2 separate regions of the Homo sapiens genome follow, and region 1 is linked to region 2. The links are contacts of gene promoters, found by promoter capture Hi-C in human tissues and cell types (Jung and others, 2019). All regions are on one chromosome and are shown on one strand. Each heading gives the region's core, a stretch centred on a gene start or on the middle of the fragment in contact. The rest is flanking DNA. Distances are from core to core; before and after follow the strand shown.

Region 1 (4,746 bases), core at 487-2,986, 340 kb after region 2:
TGGCATGATCACCTCTCACTACAGCCTCGAACTTCTGGGCTCAAGCAATCCTTCCACCTCAGCCTTTCAAAGAGCTGGGATTACAGGCTGAGCCACTGGAGGCTTGGTTTTCACTTATTTTGGGTGTATACCCAGAAGTGGAATTGCTGGATCATATGGTAATTCTATTTTTAAGTTTTTGAGGAACCACCATAGTGTTTTCCATGGTGGTTGCACCATTTTACATTCTGACCAGCAAGGCACAAGGATTCCAATTTCTCCACATCCTCACCAACACTTCTTATTTTCTGCCTTTTTATATTAGCCATCCTAATGGATGCGAGGTATTATCTCATTGTAGTTTTCATTTGCATTTCCTTAATGATTAGTGACGTTGAACATCTTTTCATGTACTTCTTGGAGATTGGTATATCTTCCTTGGAGAAATGTCTATTTAAGTCTTTTGCCCATTTTTGAATTGTGTTGTTTGTTTCTTTGTTGTTGAGTTTTACGAGTTCTCTATATATTCTGAATATTAATCTCTTATTATACATATGATTTTCAGATATTTCCTCCCATTCTGTGGGTTATCTTTTCACCCCTTTGATAGTGTCTCTTGATGCACAAATTTAAAACATTTTAATGAAATCCTGTTTGTTTCTTCTTTTGTTGCTTTTGCCTTTGGTATCATATCCAAGAATTCATTGCAGATCCACTATCATGAAGCTTTTGTCGTATGTTTTATTCTAAGAATTTTATAATTTTAAGTGTTACATTTAGGTCTTTGATTTATTTTGTGTATTTGTATGTGGTGTTAGGTAAGAGTCCATCTTTACTCTTTTGCCTGTACATAATCCAGTTTTCCCAGCACCATTTGTTGAAAAGACTGTCCTTTACTCATTGAGTAGTCTTGGCACCCTTGTAAAAAATCATTTTTCCATACATTGTTTCTGGGCCCTCTATTCTGTTCCCTTGGTCTGTATCTTTATGTGAGTAACACACTATTTTGATTACTATAGCTTTGTAATATGTTTTGAAATCAGGAAATGTGAGTACACCAGCGTTTTTCTTCTTTTTCAAGATTATTTTGGCTGTTCAGGGTCCCTTGAGATTTCATGTTAGTTTTAGGACGTGTTTTTCTATTTCTGCAAAAAAAAAAAAAAAAAAAAAAAAAAAAAAAAAAAAAAAAAAAAAGCTACTAATTCTGTAGATTGCTTTGGGTAATACTGACATCTTAACAGTGTTGTCTTCCAACCCATGAACATGGGATATTTTTCCATTTATTTATGTCTCCTTTAATTTTTTTCAGCAATGTTTTGTAGTTTTCTTTGTACATGTCTTTCACCTTCTTGGTTAATTCTTTTTTTTTTTTTTTTTGAGATGGAGTTTCACTCTTGTTGCCCAGGTTGGAGTGCAATGGTGCAATCTCGGCTCACTGCAACCTCTGCCTCCCAGGTTCAAGTGATTCTCCTGCCTCAGCCTCCTGAGTAGCTGGGATTACAGGCATGTGCCACCATGCCTGGGTAACTTGGTAATGGAAACGGGTTTTCTCCATGTTCGTCAGGCTGGTCTCGAACTCCTGACCTCAGGTGATCTGCCCACTTTGGCCTCCCAAAGTGCTGGGATTACAGGCTTGAGCCACCGTGCCCAGCCAAGTTAATTCTTAAGTATTTTATTCTTTCTGATGCTATTACAAATGGAATTGTTTTCATAATTTTCTTTTCAGATTGTTCATTGTTAGTGTATAAAAATGCAACTGAGTTTTGATTGTTGACTTTGTATCCTGCTACTTTGCTGAATTCATTTATTAGCTCAAAAATTTTTTTGGTGAAAATTTTAGGATTTTCTACGTATAAGATCATATAATCTTTCTAGTTTGGTTTCCTTTTATTTATTTATATTTTTGCCTAATTTCTCTGGCTAGGACTTCCAGTACTATGTTGAATAAAAGTGGCAAAATTAGACATTCTACGCTTGTTTCTAATCTTAGAGGAAAAGCTTACAGTCTTTTATCATTAAGTATGACATTTGCTGTGAGTTTTTCGTATATGGCTATTATGTTGGGATATTTTCCTTTTTTTTTTTTTGCTGAGACATGGTGTCACTTTGTGACCCAGGCTGGAGTGTAGTGGTGTCATCATGGCTCACTGTAGCGTTGACCTCCTGGGCTGAAGTGATTCTCCCATCTCAGCCTCATGAGTAGCTAGGACTACAGAAGTACATCAACACACCCAGGTAATTAAAAATTTTGTTTGTTTGTTTGTTTGTTTGTTTTTGAGATGGAGTCTTGCTCTGTCACCCAGGCTGGAGTGCAGTGGTATGATCTTGGCTCACTGCAACCTCTGCCTCCCAGGTTCAAGCGATTCTCCAGCCTTAGCCTCCCAAGTAGCTGGGACTACAGGTGCACACCACCACATCTGACTAATTTTTGTATTTTTAGTAGAGATCAGGTTTCACCATGTTAGCCAGGCTGGTCTTGAACTCCTGACCTCAGGTGATCCACCCGCCTTGGCCTCCCAAAGTGCTGGGATTACAGATGTGAGCCACTGCACCTGGCCCCAGGCTGGTCTTGAACTCCTGGGTTCAAGTGGTCATCAGGCCTCCCAAAGTGTTGGGATTACAGGCATGAGTCACCATGCCCAGCCGTATTTTCCTTTAACTCCTAGATTGTTGAGTTTTTTTTTTTTTTTTTATCATGAAAGGGTATTGAGTTTTGTCAAATGTTTTTTCTGCATCAGTTGAGAGAATCATTATTTTTCTTTCATTTTGTTAATGTGGTATATTATATTGATTGATTTTTGTATGCAGAACCATCCTTGCATTCCAGGAATAAATCCCACTTGGTCATGGTATATAATCCTTTTAATATGCTGCTGAATTAGGTTTGGTAGTATTTTTTTTGAGGATTTTTGCATCAAAGTTCATAATGAATATAGGTCTGTAGTGTTCTTTTCTTATAATGTCTTTGTATGGCTCTGGTATTAGGGCAATGTTGGCCTTATAGGATGAATGAGGAAGTGTTCCCTCCTCTCCAATTTTTTGGAAAAGTTTGAGAAGGATTGATATTAATTCATTAAAGGTTTAGTAGAATTCACCCATGAAGCCATCAGGTCCAGAGCTTTTCTTTGTTGAGAGATTTTTGATTACCAATTCAATCTCCTTACTAGTTATAGATCTATTCAGATTTTCTGTTTGTGATTTAGTCTTAGTAGATTTGTATTTCTAGGAATTTGTCCATTTAATCTAGGTTATCCAGTTTATTGGTGTACAGTTGTTCATAAGTTCATAGTACTCTCTTATAATCCTTCTATTTCTGTAGAATTGGTAATAATGTCCCCATTTTCATTTCTGGTTTTAATCATTTGAGTCTTCTCTTTTTTTCTTAGTACATCTAGTTAAAGGTTTGTCAATTTTGTTGATATTTTTAAAGAAACAACTTTTGGCTTCTCTATTGTTTTTCTATTCTCTATTCATTTCTGCTTTAATTTTTATTATTTTCTTCTGCTAGCTTTGGGTTTAGTTTGCTTTTCTAGTTTCTTAAGTTTTAGAGTTAGGTTATTGATTCAAGATCTGGTTTTTTTTTGTTTGTTTGTTTGTTTGTTTTTAGAGGGAGTCTTGCTCTGTTGCCCAGGCTGGAGTGCAGTGGTGTGATCTCGGCTCACTGCAACCTCCGCCTCCTAGGTTCAAGCGATTCTCCTGCCTCAGCCTCCTGAGTAGCTGGGATTACAGGCGCCCACCACCATGCCTAGCTAATTTTTGTATTTTAATAGAGATGGGGTTTCACTATGTAGGTCAAGCTGGTCTTGAACTCCTGACCTCAAATGATCCACCCACCTCAGCCTCCCAAAGTGCTGGGATTACAGGCGTGAGCCACTGCATCCGGCCTCTTTTTTGTTTTTTAATGTAACCATTGATAGTTATAAATTTCCCCCTTGGCATTGCTTTTGTTGCCTCCCATAAATTTTAGTATGTGTGTTTTCGTTTTCATTTATCTGTAAGTATTTTCTAACTCCCCTTGTAGTTTATTCTTTGATCCATTGGTTGTTTAAGAGTGTGTTGTTTAATTTCTACAAATTTGTAAAATTTTCAATTTTACTTTTGTGATTCATTTCTAACTTCATCCTATTGTGGCTGGAGAAGATATTTTGTATGATATTTATCATTCTAATTCTATTGAGAAAAAAAGGAAATTTGTGGCCTACAAATTTGTGGTCTCTCCTGGAAAATGTCCCATGTGCACTTGAGAAGAATGTGTATTCTGCTGCTGTTGGCTAGAGTGTTCTGAATACATCTGTTAGATCTGGTTGGTTTATTGTGTTAAGTCCTCTATTTCCTTGCTTATCTTCTGTCTGCTGCTTCTGTCCATTGTTCGTAGTGGGGTATTAAAGTCTCCAGTTATTATTGTAGAACTGTCCTTTTATCCTTTCAATTATGTGAGTCTTTTCTTGATATATATATGTATATGTATATATCGTATAGGTATATGTATATACATATACACATATACACATATATGTATAAGTATATGTATATACATATACACATATACACATATGTATATGTATATGTATTTATATGTATATACAAATATATATATATACACACACACATATATGAAGGAATTAGGGAGGAGTAAAGAAGAGTACTTGGTCAACATACAGCAGGTTCATCTCATTGTACAAATGTAAGTTTCTCAAGCTTCAGTTCTATGGGCATCTGGCTTGTTGGAAAATTGGCCTGGTTTCATTTTCCCATCCTCCCTTTATT
Region 2 (4,770 bases), core at 500-2,999:
TTCACACCTATGAGGAAACTTGTGGGTCACCTTGATCAAGTCCAGTGACCTCCTCCCCAATTCCTACTCTGCTATTGGAAAAACAGGGGAGCAGGGAAGAGAAAGCATTTTCCCCAGAGTCACGCAACTAAAACAGCCAGGGAGATGTGATTGAAAACCAGCCCTTCTGCCCCTCTATCAGGGGTATTCCTGGCTACAAAAGTCCTAGGGGCAGGGAAGTAGTTATGGAAGGAAAGAGACAACAACCAGATTGACCAAATGCTCTCTGAAAGCCAACCCACAGAATTGACAGAAATCTAACTGGGGAGGGGAGAGGACAGGACGGTTCTGTCCTGAAGGCTGGTGCTAGAGACTCCACACAGCCACCCCCTAGCTGAGTGATCTTAAACTAGCACCTTATCCCGTGTTCTGCCGGCTTCATAGATGATCATGGAAATCTCTTACCAGGCTCTAAACCATAGCAGGGGCGGATGGGCAGAGAGCAAGGCCGAGGGGACTCAGAGGGGGCTGCTCCTCGCCCCAGGGAGCAGGGAAGACATCTTCGAAGGCGGCTCAGGAAGTCTGTTGGCTCTTCTTGGGCAGGGCTTCTGGAGAGGAGGACTTCAGAGACTGACCCCACCAGAGATCCCCTGCAAGCAGTCTCTTTCCCCAACTCCCTCCCTCCCCCGCTGAGGACCTCTCTCCAAAACCCCAAAGACAGAGAATAGAGCCAGATATAAAGAGAGGAGACAGACTGAGACCAGGAGCAAGAGTTAGGAGGGAGCCTCAAATGCTGGCCCCTGGGGGAGAAGGGCCACTCCTCTTACCTAGGTGGAGTTGGAACAGGAGACCCGGCAGCCTCACCACGCCTAAGGAAGGCAGCTAGGACCCTCAGCGTGTCTTCCCGGAGCCCCAGCTCTTCAGAGCCTGCCATGGAGGCACCTGTGAGAGAGAGGGTTAGGGACTGGACTCCAAGGGTTTAGCAAGAAGTGGAGGCTTGGGGACCAGGACTTGTGAGTCCCAAGGAAGGTGCTGAGGGCCTGGACTCCTGGGTCCTTTGGAGAGTGTGGGTCTGGGGGCCTAGACTCTTGAGTCCTCAGACGAAAAAGCGATCAGGAAAAAGACTCTTCGATCCAAGGAAAGGTGGTGGGGCTGGGTGCCCAGATTCGTGGGTCTAAAGGAGGAGGGAGCTGGGGTCCTGGACTTCTGAGTCTTAGAGAAAAAGGAACTGGAGCCCCAGACCCTTAGGTCTCCCAGGAAGAAGAGGCTTAGCGCCCCAACTCCTGGATTCTATAAGAGGCATATGCCAAACTCCTGAAACCCTTAAAGCATCGGGAACTACCAATCCCAAGAGGTTTCAGGGCAAATCTTCCCCTAGGTCCGCGCTTCTTCGCCGCGCAGCCTGCTGTGAGGTGTAGTTCCAAATCTCCGACCCCTGCTGGAATCTAGAGGACCCTGGACCCTTGGATATCAGAGAAGCGGGACTGGGGTGCCCACCACTGGATCCCGGCCCCCTCCTCTTCCCTCCTCACCCCACCCCTCGTCAACACCCCGCTGACCTGGTCCGGGGCCCCACCGCCGCCTCCTCCACTCAACTTGCGGTCTCCTCCACTGAACTCGTACAAACTTTATTAGTTCAACTTTCCCGCGCCTGCGCACTGGGCCGGGTCGATAACCGGCCCAGCGTAGAAAGGGCGGAACGCTGGGTGCACGCTCAATTTGCATGTGACGCTCCCAGCATGCCTCTGGCCGGAAACCCAAAAAAGGGCATAGGGGCGGGAACAGCCCAGCGGGCCGTCCCATCGGCTTTTGGGTCTGTTACCCAAAGAATGATAAAGTTGGTTTTATTTCAAGAAGTCGATCAAAAAGAAAGCCCCAGCGCTCTAGAGCTCAGCTGACGGGAAAGGGGGTGCGCAGCCTCGAGTTTGAGAGCTACCCGGAGCTCCAAGACAGGGGTGGGTTCCAGCTGCCCGCACGCCCCGACCTTCCATCGTAGGTAACGCGGAAGAGCCCGGGAGAGCGTTGGTGGCGTCCGAGAGCGAGGAGCGGGAAAGAGGATGGGTCTGCACGGAGAGTGGAAAGGCAGGCTGTGTACTCTGGGGAAAGTGGAGCAAGGAAGGAGCTACAGTGGCCGACGCTGGAGGTCGGCTGCAGAAAAACTAGAAAAAGTAGGGAGGAAAGAGGAAAAGAGGAGGCGTCTACACTGAGGGGGTTCTAGAGAGGGAGGGGTGGACTCCGTAGATGGGGGTAGTTCAGTCTCGAAACCTGGGGCGTGCTCTGTCCTGGAGGAGGGAGGCGGGCAGTCGGAGGGGAATTGAATGGAAGTTCTGTGTTGGAAATGTTTTGGGAGATCTTCTGTAGGGGGACTGTGGAAGGGGGTCTACATTGGGGTAAGTGCAGGAGGTAGAGGCTTACACGTGAATCGATTCTGCACTGAAATAACTAGGGAAAGAGGATGCTACCCTGAAAGTGGGGATACTTACTTTCGATGATGTGGGGGAGGGAGGAGGTCTATACTGGCGGAATTGAGGGAGTGGAGGGTCTGCACTGAAGACGCTGGGGAAGGATGTGCCATGGATATGGGAAGGAACCCTAGCTGATTAGAGAGCCTCTCGGGAGGATGGGAGGATGGGAAGAGGAGGTTTCCTGTTTGTACCCCCGAAAATATGGGTGAAGGACCTGTGCCGTGGCCCGTGAGAAGGAGGTCTGGGTGCGGAAACTCCAGGCCAGGTGGGTCCGGGGGAGGCCGGTCGCGCCCAGGAAATGCCCTATACGCGCAGGCCGGACCATGGGAACCCCAAAGCCACGGATCCTGCCCTGGCTGGTGTCGCAGCTGGACCTGGGGCAACTGGAGGGCGTGGCCTGGGTGAACAAGAGCCGCACGCGCTTCCGCATCCCTTGGAAGCACGGCCTACGGCAGGATGCACAGCAGGAGGATTTCGGAATCTTCCAGGTGCGTGCGACGACCTGGGACGCTGGAAACCCGGAGCTGCGCGCTGGGCGGAAAGGACTCCTAGTGGGCCCGGCTGAGAAGGCGGAGGTGGCGCGCGAGGGGCGGGCTCGTGCCAACGCTGGTGGGTGGGGCTAGAACGGGAGGGGCGGGGCTAGCCGGATCCGCTGACTGATGGTGGGGCGCAAGCAGGGTTGGAGCTGCAGGGTTACGGGAATAAAACCGGGAAAGCCGGTTAGTACGCAAAGGAAATGCATCCTGGGGGTTTGGGGCTTTCTAGAGGCCGGGGCTCTTGGTTGTAGGATAGATACTGGGGGATGGTTCTTGAAACATCAGAGGTGAGGCCTGGAGCCCCAAATCTGAGGTTCCTAACTACCGAATTAGTATATGCCAGAGGTGGTAAACAGTGTGAGGGGCGGGGTTATCACAGAGGGTGTCGCGGGGCAGGTGGTGCACGGGATTAGACACCAAGTTGGACTTGGAAGCCTGGCTTAGAAAGAAAAGGTTTTTGGGCCGGGGGCGGTGGTTCACACCTGTAATCCTAGCACTTTGCAAGGCCAAGGCGGGAGGATCGCTTGAGCCCAGGAGTTTGAGGCCAGCTTGGGCAACATAGGCTCCATCTCTTTAAAAACAAAAGCGAAACAAAACAAAAACCAAAGAGGTTTCAAAGGCTTTTGAAGAGGCCGAGCACAGTAGCTCATGCCTGTAATCCCAGCACTTTGGGAGGCCGAGGAGGACGGATCACCTGAGGTCAGGAGTTCAAGACCAGCCTGGCCAACATGGTGAAACCCCATCTCTACTAAAAATACAAAAATTAGCCAGGTGTAGTGGTGCCCACCTGTAATCCCAGCTACTCAGGAGGCTGAGACAGGAGAATCGCTTGAACCGGGGAGGCGGAAGTTGCAGTGAGCTGAGATTGCACCATTGCATTCCAGCCTGGGTGACAGGAGTGAAACTCCATCTCAAAAAGAAAAAAAGCCTTTTGAAAACTAGAGGTGGGGGATGGAGGTAGGTGGGACGGGGGGATTTGGGGATGGACCTTGCAGAGTTAGAACTTGCCAGGGAAAGAGGGTGGTGTTAGGACTCGGGAGACAGGGTTAGGGCCCCAGGAGCAGGATCTAAGTCGTCCTCCCCCACCATCCTGACACCACTGTTGCCCCAGGCCTGGGCCGAGGCCACTGGTGCATATGTTCCCGGGAGGGATAAGCCAGACCTGCCAACCTGGAAGAGGAATTTCCGCTCTGCCCTCAACCGCAAAGAAGGGTTGCGTTTAGCAGAGGACCGGAGCAAGGACCCTCACGACCCACATAAAATCTACGAGTTTGTGAACTCAGGTCTGCCAGCTTGGGGTTCGTGTGGGAGGCTGGGGCCCCAAGGGTTCCTGGCACTCCTACTCCCCTCACCACTTTTCTCAACAGGAGTTGGGGACTTTTCCCAGCCAGACACCTCTCCGGACACCAATGGTGGAGGCAGTACTTCTGATACCCAGGTGAGAATGTGCCCAACTTTCATGCCCCTCAGTCTCCGACCTGTCTCCATGGGCCTTGTCCTCTCCCTCTAGACGATCCCCCCACTCCCCTGCCTCCAGCCTGCCCCTCACCTGAGCCAGTGCTGACCCTGTCTGTCCCTGCCCCGGTCTCCTCAGGAGAAAATTCCAAGTCTTCACCCAGCATTCAAGGCCCGAGCACACCTTCCCGGGATTTCATGGATTTCGATTCGCAGGGGGCTGTCAGCCTCTTGGGAACTGAAAAACTCCCTCACCTTGATCCTGCTGAGGCCCAAGCTGGGGGAGCATCCCCTCTGAAATTCTACCCAGCCTGCTTTGCCCAGGTCTTACCTGC

The links. The method cuts DNA at HindIII sites, captures the fragments that hold promoters and counts their contacts. A contact is called where the count stands out against the background at its distance.
Region 1: a contact is called between a fragment that was not itself captured here and the fragment with the promoter of IRF3 in region 2, in 1 of the 25 tissues and cell types used here (adrenal gland).

The regions. Positions count from the first base shown.
Region 1 is chr19:49,319,245-49,323,990 of GRCh38, reverse strand. The region is part of intron 1 of SLC6A16 (solute carrier family 6 member 16); the gene reads left to right. Among named protein-coding and RNA genes, the nearest start is that of SLC6A16, 3.6 kb to the left of the region's middle. The HindIII fragment of the contact is 3,182 bases long and covers 146-3,327 here.
Region 2 is chr19:49,662,836-49,667,605 of GRCh38, reverse strand. It overlaps IRF3 (interferon regulatory factor 3), which reads left to right and starts at 1,749. Exons shown (of 8, transcript NM_001571.6): 1 at 1,749-1,975; 2 at 2,760-2,932; 3 at 4,092-4,263; 4 at 4,348-4,418. The coding sequence starts at 2,768. It overlaps BCL2L12 (BCL2 like 12), which reads right to left and starts at 1,673. Exons shown (of 7, transcript NM_138639.2): 1 at 1,539-1,673; 2 at 807-921; 3 at 445-587. The coding sequence starts at 913. RefSeq lists silencers at 1,501-1,580, 1,621-1,770. The HindIII fragment of the contact is 43,433 bases long and covers 1-4,770 here.